Regions from separate parts of the Homo sapiens genome. Here regions 2, 3, 4, 5, 6 and 7 are each linked to region 1. The links are contacts of gene promoters, found by promoter capture Hi-C in blood cells and fetal thymus (Javierre and others, 2016). All regions are on one chromosome and are shown on one strand. Each heading gives the region's core, a stretch centred on a gene start or on the middle of the fragment in contact. The rest is flanking DNA. Distances are from core to core; before and after follow the strand shown.

Region 1 (2,728 bases), core at 93-2,592:
TCTAATAGAAACTGTGTGTTTTTGCTCTCAGAATTGTGTGACTATTTCTGGTGTATAGAAAATACTACACTGTAGTCTGATATTTTAAGCATATTTCAATGTCATGATATTATATGTCACTTAGACTAGCAAACTTCTAATCATAGTCATGACTAATGTAAACCAATGTAAGCCCCATTTGAGGAATCAATGAATACTCGATAAATGCTAACATTAATTAAAAATGGATTGTTTTGGAAGACAGCATATATGAAGAAATGGATATATACACTTCTCAAAATTGCTTTGCATTTTGAGCTCAGAATTTCAGATGACTGTGAGGACTAGGATAATCAAATTATTTATACACACCAGCACAGTGATCAATTCATTTAGTCAATTAAGGAAGAAAGAAAAATCAATGTCAGAATCAATGGAAACTAAAATCAAGTATTTTTAAAACATTCTGTTAATCTCTAGACTCTAGCATAGTGCTTGCACAGTGGATGTCTTCCAATAATATCTATTAAATAAATATCTGTTAAATAAAAAGCTTCTATAAAATGAACTACCACATTTTTTACTTTTTAACTTATCACAAATAACCAGTATCTATTTTTTCGATAAATTCCACTATGAGAGCTCTTATTCTGTTGGGGTAAATCTTGGATAGTGTGATAACCTACTGTTCAGGTTTAGGTAGGCATTCCACTTTCCCTAATGGGAGACATGAAAATAAATAATCACAAGGTCATATTTGCTAAGCCAGAATAAAGTTTATTAACAAATGGTCAAAATGGTTATTTCTCAAAGAGTGATGAAATAGCCTAAAAGACAGAAGGGAGGTCTCCAATGGTACCCAAATGTGCAAATAATTAAGAAGATTCATCAAGACTTGGCCCCGGGGATTGGGATGGCCTTAGCCTTGATGTAGGCAGTAGTGAGTGCTGAAGCCCAGATGGTGCAGAGGACATTGGGCAGCCACCTCACGGAACCTGTGCAGACTCGGCTGGTTAACAGCGGGGCTCACAGGGACTCTCACAGCCAGGCTGAACATAGGTGGTCAGGTTGATCCCACTCAGTCCGGGAGTCGGGTGACAGTTGTTGAGCAGCCAGCAAGTTGGCACATAGGTATCAGGCTTGCAGCAGGGTGGGGGGCAGGTGTCACAGCAGATGGGCTGAAGGAGGCTGATCTCATGTGGGCAGGTGCTGGGTAGGCAGACTCCACAGCGGCAGCTTTTATCAAATGAGCAGAAGGTGGTGGCAGGGCCGGTGGGGACGCTGCAGGAGCGGAGAGCACAGCAATACATGGCAATGGGAGGTGGGTTTTTGTTGAGTTGAGAGAAGTCTGTTGGTGTCTCGATGCTCCTCTCTTCTGCTCTGGCTCTTATATACCCATCTCCCTGGGCGTCAGCCTATTACTGAGGGTTTTTCCCCCATGTTTCAGTTTATAGTTATTTCCATAAAAAATGCCTAATTACTTAAGTGTTTATTACCTAAGATACACTGCTCACCTCATAAAAGAGATTTAGGTTGTTTTGTTGTCAAATTAGGACTATTCACATTGCCAGTGTGTCACTACACAGAAATCTTCATTCCAGTCTTCAAAGGTACCGGGCCATTATCTTCTAATCATTATACCCTCACTAATAATGGCTCGGTATGCCAGGCATCTGCAAACGTTTCCCACTTCTTTTGTTTACTTTTCAGATGAAGAGGACAAGTAAGCTTTTTGTTTGCTGTTCTACCAGTGACTACAGGTTCTATGTGATCCTTTAGGCCCTCAGGCTGAAAAAGTGATATAACATTTTAGATTTATTATTTGTGGCTCCAATAAACTGAATGAAGATGAATGGATAGAATCTATAGAGAAATAGATTTTGGTTTTGTGTAAAGAGGCACTTTCAAACAGAGCTATAACAAATCGTTTGTTCTGCATTCCTTTCAAATATGCTCTGAACAATAACTTGGTAAGAACATGCAGGTGGGAATGAAGACCTTCATGGGTGACAAAGATGGGTGTCCTTTAAGCTCCATCCAACTGTGTTATAAATGGAGATTATTTATAACCAAAAGGCTGGTTGTATTGGGCCATTCAGAAGCTAAATGATGCAGTATTTACCAGACTGAGTTCCATGAACACTGGTTCCAAGGGACTTGAAAGTGTTTTCTGGTAAGTAAGTTTGGGAAATGCTGAATTCTTCATTGTTGGGCCTCTCGGAGCCTTTAATGTGCTAAAATGCTCTATGACTTTTCAATACAGAGATATAGCATATATTTTTCTCCAAACTTACTTGACCATGGACTGCTTTTTGTTTGTTTTCAGAGATTAGCTCTATAGGTCAGTGCTTTATGAAACATACTTGGGGAGATTTAGCAACATCTTACAGCAAGCTTGTTCAACCTGTGGCCCAGAAAGGCATTGAATGCAGCACAACACAAATTCATAAACTTTCTTAAAACATTATGAGATTTTTTTGTGATTTTTTTTCTTTTTTTGCTCATCAGCTGTCATTAGTGTTAGTGTATTTTATGTGTGGCCCAAGACAATTCTTCTTTCAATGTGGCCCAGGGAAGCCAAAACATTGAACACCCCTGTCTTACTTCCAGGCTCTGTGGTCCAGAATAGAGACATTTCCGAGTTTCATCTAAACCACTAAAACTCTAAAAATAAAGTTTTAAAAGTAGATAAAGGTAGAAAATTTAGTATGATGATTTAGAATTACTTTAGAATATGAAAAATACTAAA
Region 2 (2,728 bases), core at 104-2,603, 470 kb after region 1:
GTTATTTCATTGCAAGAAAGGACATTCCACTTGTTGGAGCTCCCTAAAGCTGACAAGGGCTGACTCTGGAAGGAGGAAGTCACCCATCCTAGACCTCTGCTACTCCATGTGCATTGGAGTGTTATGGGCAGGCTCTAGGGATCAACTATGGAAAGTCCAGGGTTTCTTCCAGTGCAGTGTATCTGTGACCTGTTACTCAGGTTAGATAGCTGCATGAAAATGCAACAGGAAAGGCCTGGCATGATGAAATGAGGCTTCTTCCAATCTCCCTGTCTCCCAGGCCTACTGGGGGCCCAGGGCATTTCATTGCCAACAACATACCCCGGGATTCTCTGGTCATAAATGGTCCCTCACAGGAGCCAGCTATAACTTTGGGCCAGGCGAGAAGTGGATATGGGCCCTTGGCAAGAAAGAAACTTCTCTGACAGGCATTTTCTTCCCTGAGTTACTTATGGGAAGCCTGAACTGCACTGCACTAAATACATCAAACCCAATCCCCTGACTTTAAATAAAAGAGGAAATGAAAACTCAGAAGACTCAGAGGATTGGGCAATACCACCAAAGGTCACAGAGTTCATTCATAGACCTGATGTTCAAGCTCTGGCTCCAGTAACTGCCATCTGGGTCGCTTACCCAGCCTGAATCTCAGTGTTCTCAACTGTATAATGGGCTAATGATACCTCCCTCTTAAGGTTATTGGGAGGAGCAAATGAGGCCACAGAGATGAACATGCTTGGTGACTTCCAACATGCCCTATGGGAACAGAACTACCAATGAATGCTGGTGACACAAAGTTCCTGGGAATCCAAAGCCACTCTGAACCTCTTACCTTCTTCTGGAGCTCCTCGATGGTCCGGAAGTAGGACTGGTAGTCAGGGCACATGTAGGGGACCTGCTGCTCACACCACTCACGGATGCGGCTCTCCAGGCTGGCGTTCTCCTGCTCCAGCTGACGCACCTTCTCCAGGTAGCCGGCCAGGCGGTCGTTCAGGGATTGCATGGTCTCCTTCTCATTGCCAGTGAGGATGCCCTCCCCAAACCAGCCCCCACCCCCACTGTAGCTGGTAGCGAAGCCTCCAGCAGGGAGGCAGAGAGCAGGGAGGCAGCTGGTGGCCCTGTAGCTGCTTCTGCCCAGACCCACTGAGCAGGCAGAGAAACTTCTGGCCACAGGGGAGAGACTTGGAAGCTTGCAAGAGCTGCTGGAGTACATTGCGGACACACGAGTGGAGCCCCCACTGGCCCCTCCTGGGCTCTTGAGAGACCCAGAAGAGAAGCCGGCCTTGAGGCATTTGGAAGCCATGGCCCCTGCAACTCAGATGCAATTGATAGGTCTCTGAGGCCAGACACCCCAAAGCAGAGAAGCAGCTCCTTACCCCAGATTTATATCTCTGCCCCAGTGGGCATTGGTTGGCCTTTACAAAGTGTTTTCTCCTCATTAAAGTTAACACCACTTTCTATTAAAACCCCTCATTAACCTGTTATTTAGTTTCCTGTGAAAATTTACCAGTCTCATAAAATAGGAGCCCCATTACTATGTCAAGACTCATCTCCACCACCCCACATCACTGGGAAGACCAAGTCCCTGTCAGTTCTTCAAAGGGACCTGTCATTTGAGCCCAGACCTCAGCCTCCGCATTAAGCAAGCATGGGAGTTCAGCCACTGTCTTGACTTTCTCCAACTTTGACTTCTTTTATTGGCCTGAGGGAGTAGAGGAGGTCTCTGGGGTGCTCCCAGAAGATGGAAGGGTAAACTTGGTTGGTGCAGGAAGGCAGGGGTCTTGCAGCCAGGGAGACACAGAAGGCTCTTGAATTGGCCCAGAAAATATGGCTAAGGTGACCAATTTTCTTGGTTTCCCCAGGAATTTTCTGGCTTTAGTTCCGAAAGTTCCATATGCCAGGGAAACCTCAGTCCTCGGTAAAATGGGACAGCTTATCACCCTAGATACTGCAGAGCCCTGATGGACACTTCCCTACTCTTTCCCTTGCCAGGAAGTCTGTGCAGGTTGTAGAGCCTAAGTTCTAGCCACAATGCCTAGAGATCAGTTAATTGGACACCTGCCCATGATGACATCTAGGAGGGCATGTCTTCCCCAGCCCTGGTTGAGAAATGGAGAAGCCCTTCCTTCTGGCTGCCTGAATTGGAGCTCTTTTCACACAGCCCTATCAATAACCCGGCTGATGGTAGCAACCATCATTCACTGAGCATTTAGTACCCACCAGCCCCCACGCTGATCTGTCTCTATGCATTCTCTTATTCAGTCCTCACACAAACTCATGAGATTGGCATCACCAATAGCCCATTAAATAGAGGAGGCTTGGACTGTTTCAGGAGCCTGTCCCAGATCACAGCTGAAAAAGCATCTGTACAACTGTTCAAGGCATGCTATCTTCTTTAAGGCCTCACACACACCCTCCAACACAGTCGTGGATAGAAAGGTGCTGACTCCTACAGAAGGAGACAATGGTCAGAGTAGAAAATGGCTTACCCAAGGTCCACACAGGCTTCCCAGGGAGGCTAAAGCCCAGGCCTTGCAGCTCCAAACCACAGGCCCACCCCACTGCCTCTAAGGGCCCAGTCCTGGCCAGGCCTTCCCCCGAAGTCTGGCCCCTGCTCCAGCCCTGCTGTGCCCTCCCAGCTCTGAATGCCCAAGGCAGTGACTATTGGTAGATTTCTTGGCCTCCAATTAACTGACGTCTTCTGATTGTCTTGTGTTTCAGCCCTATTTTC
Region 3 (2,728 bases), core at 106-2,605, 450 kb after region 1:
TTAAAACAAATATCTAATGCATGCAGGGCTTAAAACCTAGATGACGGGTTGATAGGCAACAAACCACCACCATGGCACATGTACACCTATGTAACAAACCTGCACGTTCTGCACATGTATCCCAGAAGTTAAAGTAAAATAAAATAAAATAAAGAAAAGCAGCTTCCTTAATAGGACCTGCATGATCCTGCTCCCACCTCTTGCCCCAGCCTCACCTGATAGCTCCATTGCTCTGGGAGCTGCAGGTACTCTGACCTTCTTCCAGCTCCTGCAGGGACTGTACTGCTCAGGCCACAGGGCTTGTGCCCTGTGCCGTACATCTCTGGAACCCTCTTCCCTCTCCACTCACCTACATTTCTTCTCTTGTTTAAGAGCTCAACTCAACTCTCACGTCCTCCTTGAAGCCTCCCCCACCTCTCTGAGACAAAGCCCCCATGGTACATGTATCTCCTTTCATCGTGAGTAGTAATCATTCTATTATGGTCTGTCTCCCCGGCCAAGCAGTGAGGCCAGCAGCCACAGACCCATGCCCACCCTGCATACCTCACATAGAATAGGCACCTAATAAGAATATTTGGATCAGACAAAACAATAAATGAATGAAGAATTAATACATGGTGAAAGGAAAAAGGATGATCTCAGAGACTGACAGGCATGCACTCAAAACCAGGAACAACACACTGGATGCTGGATGGAAACCCAGTAGCTCAGAGAACCAATGGGAGGCCTGAGGATCATGTGCAACCTGAAATGTGTTCCATTTGCCTGGCACTATATATTTTCTTTAATTTTTTGAAAATACTTAAGAATCAGGAGAATTTAACATTTTTAAAAACCCAGATTCTCAGCTTCCCTGGAACTATTGGAAGATCAGCAATATTGGACCTGCTTCTCACACAGTAGAAGTGGCCCTGAGGGCATGCCATTGCCTGGATTGGACAAGGCAAGAGCTTTCTGCTTTTCTACCATCTCCGTATGACCCACGTCATTCATGCATGTTAATGGCCTGGTCCTTGCAAATGTTTGACACAACACTTGCCCTGAAGTTATAGATTCTGAATGATGGAGAAGCAATGCCAAATGCGGAATAAGAAACAGCTACAACAGTCGTCAGCCCACTGGGTGTCCATGGCCCAGAGGTACCCTGCATTCAGACAGCCACCAAGTCCTGCTGATTCTACCTGCACAGTGTCTAGAGCTGATGCCTCTGCTGCCCTAACTCAGGCCCTCCCTATTGCTTACCTAGGCTGTGGCCAGGGCCTCCTGGACAGTTTCCCTGCCTGGTTCCCCTCCCTCTACTCAGTTCTTCCTGCTGCTATCAGGGCCATCTTCCTGAAGAACAGCTTTGAGCTTGAGAGACATTTACTGAGCATCTACTATGTGCCACGTACAGGGAATAAAATTGTATTATAATGTCTCTGCATTCTAGATGTTTACCATCTAGTGGAGAAGACACACAGTAAATTCTCTCATTTCCTCCTCAAAACAATTTCCACTCACCTATAAATTAAAGCCCTCCCTTCCCAGTATGACCCGTGTTGTTCTCCATAAATGGGCCCCGGCTGATCTTTCCTGTCCTGCTCCCCACCAGGGCTCAATTACACAAGGCTACCTATTGTCCTGCTGACATGCCAAAATCTCCGTTCTGAGAGGAATGGAGCTATGAGGTGAGGCTGGGGTAAGAGGTGGGAGCAGGATTGTGTAGGTACTATTAATAAAGCTGCTTTTCATCCTAAGCTCTGGACAGGCCATGACCTCCAGTCACCTGTCTGCCTATCTCCCTAAACATATGGAAATGACAGGAGGGCAAATGCCCTGTCTTCCTCTATCTTGGTGTCCTCCATAGCACCTGCCCCATGGTGGGCACTTAGAAGGAGCTTGCCAGCTTGGAATGAGATAGAATGGTCTCCGAGGGGCTTGGTTCAGGATGGCAGCATGAACACCACTGCCTGACTTCCTTCAGAGCATACCAGCTTCTTAATGGCTCCATAGTCAGGACAGGGTTCTAAGCTGATGGTCCCTCAAGGGTAGATCCAGTTGCTTCCTATAACCTCCCAGAATCCCTGCCCACGTCTCTCTAAGCCTCAGCTGGGCCTGCGTACTTGCAGTCCTCGTTCTCCAGCAGGCTCCGGTACGTGTTGATCTCGCCCTCCAGCCGGGCCCGGACGTCCAGCAGCACCTGGTACTCCTGGTTCTGCCGCTCCAGGTCAGCCCGGATCTCAGCCAGCTGGGCCTCAACGTTGGTGATCATGCACTGCATCTGGGCCAGCTGGGAGCTGTAGCGGGCCTCACTCTCCGTCAGCGTGTTTTCCAGGGAGTCCCTCTAAGGCAAAGGAAGACATAACCATGAGGAAGGGAGCTGTTTACCATGGCCTGCTTCAGAAAGAACCAAGAAGAGCCAAATCTCCCTTTGATGCTGGAAATGAGCCCTCCCTACACCAGTCACTTTGGAAACGGAAGCCCAGAAAGGTCAAATGACTTGTTCAAGGGTAAACAGCTGGTACATTATGGAACCACAGTTTCTGTTCGTAAATCTGATCCTAAATCCCTCCTTTCTTCTGCAACCTTTGTCTGCCTTCAGGATTGGATCTGAGATTTCCCAAGTACCTCCCTGCCGGCATCATTTAGAACAGGGGTTTTCAAACCTGGCTGCACATTAGCGCCACATGGGAGCCCTCAAAAAATACCCATGGCTGGCCGGTCACAGTAGCTCATGCCTGTAATCCCA
Region 4 (2,728 bases), core at 150-2,649, 430 kb after region 1:
ATAGGCCCCACAGATTCCAATGTTGCCAGGAATGTGGCAGGTCCCTGGCAAGGGACAAGCAGTGTGGCAGGTAGGCGGCAGACAGAGGCTGGGGCGGCCCAGGGGAGTGGACCCCACACGGACTCGGTTGGCATGTGCCACGTTGGCCAAAAGGCACATGGGGGCAATGTTGGCCTCTGCCCCAGGCTGGCACCCAATGTCGATGGGAGAGACAGAGACATTTCTTGCTCCAGGAGCCATGGTGCAACCCAGAGGGCATGAGGAGCTGCTGTAGGAAGAGGTCATGGTGTTGGGCTGAGGCTGCACAGGAGCTTCAGATCAGCTGGGAAAGCTGAACCACTGAGACTGAAGCCTCCTCTCCTCCCAGCCCTTTTATACCCCATCCTGGGCGGGTGTTGGCTCCAATGCTTTGACCTCCTGCCTTGATTATCTACCTGTTGTGGTGCCATCATCCTGTTACTCAGCTGCTGAGTTTACCATGAAAAGTTTCTCAGCTCGTTAAAGGAATGTTGACGAATCTGAGGCCTCTTGGCTCTTTGAAATCAGGTTGGCTGTTGATGGGAGGTCAGAAGCTTTTTATTATCTTTCAAAGAAGCAAAGTTATAGCCATCAGATGCTTAGACCTTGACTGGGTTTGGCCTCTTTATGGATGTGTCCACTCTGGAGACACAAACTTTCCTGTTGGTCAGTGGTGTAGCAGGAGGACTAACCCCGGTGATGACAATGGTTCTCACTTGGGTTAAGACTCAACCAGCCTTCCCTATCCAGGGAAGAAACTGAGTCTTGGAATTGGTGGATGTTATGGCCTTGGGTTATCAAGAAGTCCTACATTTCTTCTTTCTTTAGTTGGTTGCCTTTCAGACTCACTTTGAGGAGCAACAAGACTTAGATGAATCCAGTCACTCAAAACACATCCCCTGGCTACGTCCCATATGCTACGCACCTTGCTGATGCTTGATATATAGTTGGTTAAGCACAAAATAGTTCCTGCCATTGGGGAACAACTGTAACTTGGGTAGACGTGATGTTTCAAACAAGGTATCTGAGAAGCTCATGAAAATGAGGATGACTCCAAAAACCATGGCTTATCTCGACCAAGAAGGGCAAGCTCAAGAAGCCAGAAATAAACAAAGAGAAATGAGCAATAATCTTACTGAACCTCAAATAAGAACTTGGTCATGAAAGTCAAAGGACATTGAGTGATCAGAGCCTCTGTGGGCTCTCTTCATACCTTGCTTCCTTTATTCTAAAGTCAGTCATGAGCCTTCACCCTATGAGCTAGGGGATTGAGCAATGATACCTTTTAATCTTTACTTCCAACCTGGGAGGTGGGTACTCTTAATTTTACAAAATAAATAAACAAGCCATTGAGGACAGTTTTCTAAGATCAACCTCACTATAAAGTATAAAGCCTATTCTCAACATCAGCTTCTTTCAACTCCAGAAACTGTTTCTTCACCTTGACCACCTCCAAATCCTCCACCCCAAGGATAACTACTGTGTCATTGCTAGAACTAAGAAGGATTCAAATTCCTAGAAACCGGGCAAGAAGTTGAAATTAAGATGTAAAACAAAAATCTGACATTGTGTATTTTTCCCTTTGTATCTCAGAAAATACAGATGTGGAGGTATTCATACAATAAAACAGAGTTTCTCCAAGGGCTAAATCAGAAGATGCCAGGGGAAAGTCCTGTCCCTAAAATGGTTATATTACACATTCCACATTCAGATAGTTCTTGGTACTAGGGATCCAAGACACATGGCTGCTGAGATCCCAAAACTTTTCTCCCAAAATTTGTGACAGAAGATACATAGACCCCTGAGACTAAGAAAAACCTAATGTGGAACAATCCAAAGTGATTATAACTAGAATTTTGGGAAAATGAGTTTTTGCCAGTCCCCTGAGCATTGAACAAAAGCTGAACATACACCTCTATAGGGATCAGACGTGCATATGTGAAACACAGGCTATTGGAGTTCTATCAAGAAGAAATACAGAATCTGAGAATTCAGTCCAGATTGGGCTTCTCAGGAAAGTAAGTAGTAGTGAGCGCTGACCTAAGGGTTATTCAGAGCTCACCAATCCATAACCCTTTACAGACAACATCATTGGGAGACATCACCAGGGCAGGCTGTCCCATCCTCCAGAGGCCACTGGGTGCAATCTGCATATGTTACATCTTCAAACACCCTTTTGTTACTCTCCTCCGCCTCATCACATAGCAACAAGCTTCTCTATAAATCAGAGAGCCAGGCTTTTAAAGTCATTTCCTTTGATTTGCTAAGTAGCACCCATCTTTTGGCTTTATCCTCTGCCCAGATTCATTCCATGGACTAAAAGCCACGATTTCGTCCATTCACAATACATGACTCATCACTGCTGAAGCCTTGTGTGTCCAGATGACACCCCTCTCTGCCAACTGGCTTGGGTCCTGGCTTGGGCTTCTACCTTGTACTGTTTTGCATAATGATACTGATGTTGCATGGCTCTTTGTAAAATCGCTTTGTTCCCCTGATTTGTATTTTCTCAAAGGAGGTGAAGGAGCGGGTGGGGATCCTAAGACTCTCTTCCTTCCCAACCCTTTAAAAAGAGTCCCTGTGGCCCCTGGTGACCGAATATGAGGCCAGGTTCAGTAACAAGAAGTGATGAATACAGAGTGTGAGAGATGGGAGCCTGCTGCCCTCCTTCATTCACCTGTGTGCACAACATTCTCTGTGTGGATTCTGA
Region 5 (2,728 bases), core at 133-2,632, 420 kb after region 1:
ACTTCAAATGCAGCATTTATTCTGCCATAATAGGAGTCATTTGGCCAGGAAAAAGAATGGCTAAAAATAAGCCTCTGGACCTTCAGTTTGCTGCTTTTCCTCTTGGATTCATTATTTCTCGTTGTTTTCTTGCTTTTCCCCTTCATTCAAGCACAACTCTAGCTACCAAGGAGCTTCAATGACAATTCCTCCAGCTGATGGATTTGGCCAAGAGTCAGAGAGTCTAGCAACAACCTATGCATTGACAGTTTATTTTTGTGATGACTCAATTTTACTTCTGATTGAAAAGCAAAATCCTCTTATCTTCTAGATATGGGAGAAAGTGACATAGGTTCTAACCAATCTAGACTACAGCCCTTCTTTTTCTTTCAATGCTTATATTCTCTTTCCTCCTATATAATGACCATTTCTAGCAACAGGCTAATTTAAGGTGTGGAGAGAAATATTCTTCTAGTCAAAAACTGTTTTTGAACACCTACAATATAGACTGAGTAATGGGGCGGGCCCTTGGAAATACAGCAGGAGAGAAGTCACACTGACCCTCCTCATCCTGACTTACTTGATCCTAAAGTCATCAGCAGCCAGCTTCGCGTTGTCAATTTGTACAATCAGCCTGGCATTCTCAGCCTTGCTGCACAGGATCTGAGGAAAACGGAAAGACGGTTCACACACAAAGCACCATACTCTAAGCTCCCACTCCATGTGTGGTATTTACGCTCATGTCCAAGAGAAACCAAGAACCCAAAGCTCTCTGGACCTTATGCAGATTCCTCCTGCGAAGGCTTCTGCCTTCTCAGACCCAGCATGCCCAGGCGATCCCACACCTCACCTTCTGCTGGAGCTCCTCGATTGTACGGAAGTAGGACTGGTAGTCGGGGCACACGGTGGACTCGTGGCACTTGCTCCTCTCGAGGAGTGTGGTCTCCAGCTCTGCATTCTCCTGCTCCAGCTGGCGCACCTTCTCCAGGTAGTTGGCCAGGCGGTCATTCAGGAACTTCATGGTCTCCTTCTCATGGCCATTCAGGGTGTTTTTGCCGTAGGCCCCACAGATTCCGATGTTGCCGGGAATGTGACAGGTCCCTGGCAAGGGACAAGCAGTGTGACTGGTTGGGGGCAGACAGAGGCTGGGGCGGCCCAGGGGAGTCGACCCCACACGGACTCTGTTGGCGTGTGCCACGTTGGCCAAGAGGCACATGGAGGCAGCATTGGCCTCTGCCACAGGCTGGCACCCAACATCGATAGGAGAGACAAAGACATTTCTTGCTCCAGGAGCCATGGTGCAACCCAGAGGGCATGAGGAGGTGCTGTAGAAGGAGGTCATGGTGTAGGGCTGAGGCTGCACAGGAGCTTCAGATCAGCTGGGAAGGCTGAGCCACTGAGACTGAAGCCTCCTCTCCTCCCAACCCTTTTATACCCCATCCTGGGCGGGTGTTGGCTCCAGTGCTTTGACCTCCTGCCTTGATTATCTACCTGTTGTGGTGCCATCATCCTGTTACTCAGCTGCTGAGTTTACCATGAGAAGTTCCTCAGCTCATTAAAGCAATGTTGACAAATCTGAGATGCCTCTTGGCTCTTCCATATCAGGTTAGCTGTTGGTGGGAAGTCAGAGACTCACTGTTTCTGCTCAACAAACACCAGCAGTTGATTCAGGCCCCAATTGCTCTCTCTGGACTATGGTCTCTGTGGATGTGGTCACAATGAAGGCTCAAATCTTTCCGTCAGTAATTTGTGTAGCAGGAGACACAGAGAACCAATGGGACCCACTGGATCTTTCGCCTGTGCAAGACTGAATCAGCCTTTCCTTTGAAGAGAAAATATCAGTTAATAAAACCAATGCATCTACTGATATTTGACGATTGAGAGGCGCCTTTTTTTCTTTCTTCTTTCACATTGCATACTCCCTTGAGAAGCAATAACATCTGGAAGCAATGGCGCTAATTAAGTTTTGGTTGACTAGTCAGAATCAGCTATTCATTCATTTGTTCATTCATTCATTGGTTCAGCATGCTTCCTGAATATCCCCCATAACTCAGGCAGTGTGCTGGTTCCTGGACACGCAATGTTCCCTGTTCATCAGGAGTAAACAATGCCTCTGAAATCTCTGGATGTTCTACACAAACTTGAATGAGAACCATAGATCAACAAGAGTTAGTGAAAGACAGAGGATCTATAGTTCTGGCCAAGGAAGTATCTAGAAAGAAATCACTAACAAAGAAAAATCTTATTTGATCCAGGAAAGGGAGATTGGGCACAGAGCTCAAGCAGTATTCAAATGAAAGGTCCAGAACTAACATTGATTGAGTACTTAGGTGTGCTAGGCATTCTACTGTGTTCTTTCCTATCTAACCCTTACCACCTATGAGGTGGTTACTCATTGCCTCAATGTACAGATGAGAAAACTAGAGTGAAGTACATTTGCACATTTTCTGATTGACAGTTAGTGAACTGGCAAAGGCTCGATTCAGTCTCATGTCTGCTAGGCCCATTCTCTTTTCACTTCATCATGGCCCCCGGTGAGAACAACGGTGTCATTGCCCCGTCAGTGCTGGGCCTAAGGAGAGGGCAAGAAGGGGCTTAGTTACTGGATGAGAAATTGTGGTGAAAAGAAAATTACTGAAGGTCTTTGTGTTCCAGCAAAGGAAAAGATTTAAATACTATGGCAGTGACAACAAGAAAATGCACTTTAAAAAGTTAAACTAGGCCGGGCGCGGTGGCTCACGCCTGTAAT
Region 6 (2,728 bases), core at 128-2,627, 400 kb after region 1:
GAAGACTTGGGGTTGAGTGCGTGGAGCTGCCCCTCACCTGCTGTGAGGTGCAGAGGGGGCATTTCACCTCCCTACACCTGTACTTCTCCCACTGCACGATGGGGATTGTGATGTCTGTTCCCCTCTCTCAAGGTTGTTTGGGGCCTCCATTTGGATACAACACAAAGTACTTTAACAAGTGTTTTGTAAATGGTGAAACAATGAACATCTATAGGGATTCTGTTTCCCTCCTCCTCTTTCTCAATAGACAAGGTGGTTTTAAAATGGCAGGAAGTGAGTTGAGCTTCTTTGTCAACTCCTAGTTTATTAAAATTGCCAGAGTCCTCAAGCTTCAAGATCCTGTGAGATACTAAAGGACTTTTATTCCTTGTACCACCCTTTGTGGCATAAATTCTCAGAAACGTTTCTTCTAACATAAACATACTCATTTCCTTCAAGGAAAGGAATCAAAACAATGGGGTCATTATGATTCTATCATCCTTTTGACAAAATCTGAGACTTGGCCTCTGTAAAGCACAGTAGTTAAGAGCACAGTTGCTGGAGGCAGGCTGCTTGGATCTGAATCCTGGCTTCACCACCTAATAGCTGTGTGACCTTGGGCATGTTACTTAGCCTCTCTGAGTCTTGGCTACTTGTCTGCAAAATGAGAAAACCATAGCATTGGCTTTCTAGGATTGTTGTAATGATTAAATGAGTTTACCCATATGACTGTAGCTATAATTTAGACCAGCGCCTGGCTCATAGTAAGAGCTTGATGGATATATGGTTCTATGACAATGATGATGATGGTGAAGCTATATGATTTGATGATGATGATGATGATGATTCTGGTGATGGTGATGGTAATGATGACCTCTGTGGTTTCCAGGGAAACTCTTCACACACGACAAACACACAGATGTGCGTGCACACACACACATGTACTGTCTCATCAAAGCTAATCTTTTAATTAGAAATGAGAGAGCACTGGATGTGAACTTAAGAAACACAGGTCAATCACCCTGGGGCCCCACTGACTCACTTTATGTCACCAGCAGAATCCCTTAACCACTGAATGACTCACCTTCTCTCTCTCTCCCTTAAATGGGAAGGACAATGCTTGCCTGTGCCGTCATGGTGCAAGAATAAGTGGGTTTATTTTGTTAGACAGCTTTGAACTTGTTGGATGAAAGGAGCTATTTAAGTACAAAGGAGATGAGGGCAGCTGGGTCAGGTACTAAATTAAGACTAATCGAGATGGCTCTTCATTATTGAGAGCTTCTCTTGGGTAGGTGCCCAAGGGGTGTGTCACGTGTGCCAAAACAGTTTTACCACTTGAGAAAAAGAACAGAGGAGGGGAGGGCGTGGCAGCCTCTGACCCTTCTTGGGCTTCCTATGCTGGAAATCCCAGTGTCTCTCAAGCAGATCAGTCCTATGTACATGAGCAGTGACCAACAAGTAGGACGCTGGGCTTGAGAGCAGTTGGAGGCAGAGCAACAAGATTCTCACTTAAGCTCCCTCCAGCCTTGGGGCTCGGGACTGTGGTCACTCCAGCACCACACCGCTGTATCAGGAAGACCTGGATTAAACCAGAACCAGCTGTACTTGTAAATTTTTCAGCAAACTACAGTGATTCAGAGAATTCACAGAGGGAAAGGGAAGACCAAAACCAGCTCCTAAAGTAGATTTGGTGGTTCCACTTCAATGCCTGTGGTTTCACTGATCAATAAGACATAGAAAGCAGGGACGCACAGAGTTAGGGGGGCTACAGCCATCTCAACCAGCCCCATCAGTTCCCTAAGTGTTCCCCTCAACATCCCCATCAGTGATTCTGAAGCCTCTGCTTGTCTCCAAGGATAGGGAACTCACTGCTTCTCTTCTCTGGCCAGCTGTGATGCTGAATTCTGGAGATGTGCTGATTCTCAGCCACGGCTATCAAAATATGGAGCTTTTGATTCATGTTCTACCATCTGCAAATTCCAAGACAGACAGTTGCCATAAGGACTCACCAATGGGGGTTACTGGGGAGGTTGGATGGGTCAGCTTGTTTGGGCCTTTCTAGACTGATAGAAATAACTATCATGTAACATTTTCAGAGTTTTGCAATGTAAAAGAGAAAGGCTCTATCCTGATCTGATGGTATGAGGGATTCCTCACTGGAGGACATATCAGGACGGCAAGGCCAGCCCTTTCTGTAGAGGGTCTAGCTAGTCAAGGGCTCATTCCTCAAATAAACTTCCTAACCCAGTGTTTCTCAAACTTGAACCAACATCAGAATCACCTGCAAGTCATGCTAAAGCAGAATGCTGGTTCAGTAAGTCAGGGGTGGTGCTCAAGAATGTGCATGTCTAGCAAGTTCTCAGGTAATGCCAGTGCTACCTGCTGGCGGACCACGCTTTAAGAACCACTGTCCTAAACCTTCTCATGTTTAATTTGTTTCCCCCTCAAAGCTTCCAAAGAACGGGCTTTGGATCTGGTTCAAAGAGACTAGGTTTCAAGTCTTGACTCAGTAACCAACTGAGAATAATAACAGCTGCTTCTTCTTTGCAGGGCTGATGTGGTGCCCTGTGACACAATGTCGGCGAAGCCCCAGCCAGTGCCTTGTTCATAATGGGCATGTCATCCTAAAAGCTCAATTTAAGTTACCTGTTCTGGGGCTTCTGATTCATGTTCTACTGTCTACAAATTCCAAGCCAGACAGCTGCCAGGACTTACCAGTGGAGCTTACTGGGGAGCTTGGACGGGTCAG
Region 7 (2,728 bases), core at 128-2,627, 370 kb after region 1:
CTCTCTGAGAACATCTTGAGTTCCTCAGAGAAGGGTCCCAGACCAGGGATCCAGACAGTAATCCTCTCCTGATTCCCAGTGCTAGTAGCTTAGTTCTGAGGCCTGCTTTTGTGAATTTGTTTCATACCTCCTCATGGTTCTTCTTCAAGCAGATCAGCTCCTCCCTCAGGGACTCCACCTGGGACTCCAGGTCAGACTTGCAGAGGGTCAGCTCATCCAGGATCCTGCGTATGCTGTTGATGTCCGACTCCACCAACAGCCTCAGGGACTGCTCCGTCTGGTACCTGCACGTGTCGGAGTGGGAGGATAAGTCAGGAAAGAAAACCACCTTCCCCTCTCATGTGTTGTTTGGGTAGAATTGGCCTGAATCTTCTTGAACTTACAGTTTTCTGCCTCTTCTCTTCCATATGCTTCAGTCAAGCTGTCCATGGATAGGCTGAAGAGGTTCCCTGACTCACCTAACACCACGAGGAGCCCACAGGCACACATGAGATGAAGTCTCTCACTGTGTTCTCGGTTTTGTTAGCTAATATACCACCAAATCAATTCCCAAAGAACAATTCATTTCAATCTCTGAATTTTGTGGTTTAAGAAACACTTCCAAAAAAAACCAGTATAGACCAAAGAGCAGGCAGCACATGAGTCTAGTTCCCTATTTGAAACTAATTTTACATAACCAGCCCTAGGAGGAGAAATAGAGAGAAATGGCTTTCTCCTCTCTTCCAGGCAATAGTAGGTCCCTAGGGCCATGAAAGAACCATAGGGACCTTGAAGTTCAACATACTTGCTTCTGAAGTCGTCAGAGGCCAGCTTGGCATTGTCAATGTTCACCACCAGCCTGGCATTCTCAGCCTTGGCACACAGAATCTGAAAAGAAATTTCTCTCATGAGGTACACTTGAACTTGAAAATGTCTTACTGTTCAAAGAGAGCCAGCTGCTGCTGGCCCCCCATATGGCCAACCCCCTCACCTTCTGCTGGAGCTCCTCAATGGTCTTGAAGTAGGACTGGTAGCTGGGGCACAGCAAGGGCTCCTGCTGCTGGGACCGCTCCTGGATGAGTTTCTCCAGCTCCGCGTTGTCCCGCTCCAGCTGACGCACCTTCTCCAGGTAGCTGGCCAGGCGGTCGTTCAGGAACTGCATAGTCTCCTTCTCGCTGCCATTGAAGGAGCCCTCACAGAACCAGTTGCAGTTGCTCACATTGGCGGGGATGTTGCAGGCCCCAGGCAGGGTGTAGCCGTGGCAGCTGGGGGGCACGCAGGGCCGGGAGGAGCAGCTGGTGCGGCAGCCCAGGCTGGGCAGGCAACAACTGTAAGACATGGTGCTGGAACAGGTAATGGAAAAGCAGGTAAGCTGCTGGAGGTGGATGTGGGCAGGTTTGAGTCTCTCCTTCCTCTGCAGTCCTTTTATACCATTAATTGTGGGTGGGGGCTTGGCATACAGCATAGTTTCCTTTCCTAATGCTTCAGCTAATTTTTCTCCAAAATATGCTAGTTAGATGCTTCTAAAGAGTCCCCCCTCAACCCATAAAATTATTCCATTCAGCTTATGTCACACCAGGCTCTTCCTGGGTGCTAGTGGTTGGTGAAATCAGAGTTTCATCAGATGGCTTCATAGGAGATAGAATCATCACAGCCCCAAAAGGCTGTCTGCATTACTCAGAGGGGAGGACAGCCAGGGACATGGGGTGGAGTTGTTTGGGAATCAGGGATTCCTCACCCAGGAGTTTCCGCCACTGTTCTTTCTCCCCAGAGAGAGAGCTCTGAGAGAGAGCTTTGAGAGTTACTCTTCCAAGTAGCTCTTTCCTCCCACATTCATCCATGTTTCAGCATTCAATTTGTTTTTATAGCAGAAACTCAACCTGTATTCGCCGAAATGATCCTGAGCCTTACTATTCGTTGGGGTTTAGGGAACTTGCCAACACATGGAGCAACTGAAAACAATGGCATGTTCATGGTTGAGAAATGAGAAAGTAAAATGGAAACCAATGGAATGGATGGGAGTATACCTAAAAGAGGGCATCTGCAAATGGCAGCCCACACGTCAAGTTTACCCTGCTGAATTTTTGTAAATAAAGTTTTTGTTTGTTTGTTTTCTGTTTTTTTTTTTTTGAGACAGAGTCTCACTCTGTCGCCCAGGCTGGAGTGCAGTGGCACGATCTCGGCTCACTGCAACCTCCACCTCCCGGGTTCAAGCAATTATCTGCCTCAGCCCCCCGAGTAGCTGGGATTACAGGTGCCCGCCACCACACCCGGCTAATTTTTGTGTTTTTAGCAGAAATGGGGTTTCACCATGTTGGCCAGGCTGCTCTTGAACTCCTGAACTCGTGATCCGCCCGCCTCGGCCTCCCAAAGTGCTGGGATTACAGGCGTGAGCCAATGCGTCCGGCAGTAAATAAAGTTTTAATGGAACACAGCCATGCCCATTTGTTTAGCTATTGTATATGGCTGCTTTTGTGCTACAGTGGCAGAGTTGTGTAGTTGTGACAGAGACTATAGTGTCCACAAAGCCCTAAAATTAAAAAATTTGCCAACTTGTACTAAAGCAACAGCCTCTCTAAAGATGAGCAAGAGTAGAAATATCTAGAAGAAAAAATATGCTGGAAACAGTCTGGAGCAGTGAGAGTTCAGATGGCAGCACTGAAGCATGAATATGAAGCATAATACTGCAGACTCACCAAGAAACGAAAATTGGAGCAAGGGTGCTCAGAGGTATCTTTGTATCCATGGT

What was found. The method cuts DNA at HindIII sites, captures the fragments that hold promoters and counts their contacts. A CHiCAGO score of 5 or more calls a contact.
Region 2: a contact is called between the fragment with the promoter of KRT35 here and the fragment with the promoter of KRTAP3-1 in region 1, in 8 of 17 cell types (activated CD4 T cells, total CD8 T cells, naive CD4 T cells and 5 more). The highest score is 9.7, in activated CD4 T cells.
Region 3: a contact is called between a fragment that was not itself captured here and the fragment with the promoter of KRTAP3-1 in region 1, in 12 of 17 cell types (total CD8 T cells, erythroblasts, megakaryocytes and 9 more). The highest score is 12.7, in total CD8 T cells.
Region 4: a fragment that was not itself captured here is called in contact with the fragment with the promoter of KRTAP3-1 in region 1 in 13 of 17 cell types (endothelial precursors, activated CD4 T cells, erythroblasts and 10 more); the score reaches 8.9 in endothelial precursors.
Region 5: a contact is called between the fragment with the promoter of KRT37 here and the fragment with the promoter of KRTAP3-1 in region 1, in 6 of 17 cell types (megakaryocytes, naive B cells, M0 macrophages and 3 more). The highest score is 7.9, in megakaryocytes.
Region 6: a contact is called between a fragment that was not itself captured here and the fragment with the promoter of KRTAP3-1 in region 1, in 12 of 17 cell types (total CD8 T cells, erythroblasts, naive B cells and 9 more). The highest score is 9.6, in total CD8 T cells.
Region 7: the fragment with the promoter of KRT34 here is called in contact with the fragment with the promoter of KRTAP3-1 in region 1 in 16 of 17 cell types (naive B cells, M2 macrophages, total B cells and 13 more); the score reaches 11.5 in naive B cells.

What each region holds. Positions count from the first base shown.
Region 1 is chr17:41,007,786-41,010,513 of GRCh38, forward strand. KRTAP3-1 (keratin associated protein 3-1) reads right to left here and starts at 1,343. Exons shown (of 1, transcript NM_031958.2): 1 at 736-1,343. The coding sequence starts at 1,289. The coding sequence ends at 993. The HindIII fragment of the contact is 1,175 bases long and covers 531-1,705 here.
Region 2 is chr17:41,479,798-41,482,525 of GRCh38, forward strand. It overlaps KRT35 (keratin 35), which reads right to left and starts at 1,354. Exons shown (of 7, transcript NM_002280.6): 1 at 830-1,354. The coding sequence starts at 1,300. The HindIII fragment of the contact is 10,492 bases long and covers 1,185-2,728 here.
Region 3 is chr17:41,460,728-41,463,455 of GRCh38, forward strand. KRT32 (keratin 32) reads right to left here. Exons shown (of 7, transcript NM_002278.3): 6 at 2,103-2,323. Among named protein-coding and RNA genes, the nearest start is that of KRT32, 5.3 kb to the right of the region's middle. The HindIII fragment of the contact is 8,593 bases long and covers 1-2,728 here.
Region 4 is chr17:41,440,637-41,443,364 of GRCh38, forward strand. It overlaps KRT38 (keratin 38), which reads right to left and starts at 347. Exons shown (of 7, transcript NM_006771.4): 1 at 1-347. The coding sequence starts at 285. RefSeq lists an enhancer at 3-503. The HindIII fragment of the contact is 1,658 bases long and covers 571-2,228 here.
Region 5 is chr17:41,423,203-41,425,930 of GRCh38, forward strand. KRT37 (keratin 37) reads right to left here and starts at 1,383. Exons shown (of 7, transcript NM_003770.5): 1 at 830-1,383; 2 at 560-642. The coding sequence starts at 1,321. The HindIII fragment of the contact is 11,234 bases long and covers 1-2,728 here.
Region 6 is chr17:41,403,075-41,405,802 of GRCh38, forward strand. All of the region lies in intron 1 of LOC100505782 (a long non-coding RNA gene), which reads left to right. Among named protein-coding and RNA genes, the nearest start is that of KRT31, 6.8 kb to the left of the region's middle. RefSeq lists an enhancer at 616-1,815. The HindIII fragment of the contact is 2,100 bases long and covers 328-2,427 here.
Region 7 is chr17:41,380,929-41,383,656 of GRCh38, forward strand. It overlaps KRT34 (keratin 34), which reads right to left and starts at 1,378. Exons shown (of 7, transcript NM_001386014.1): 1 at 971-1,378; 2 at 785-867; 3 at 128-284. The coding sequence starts at 1,318. RefSeq lists an enhancer at 371-1,570. The HindIII fragment of the contact is 8,651 bases long and covers 1-2,728 here.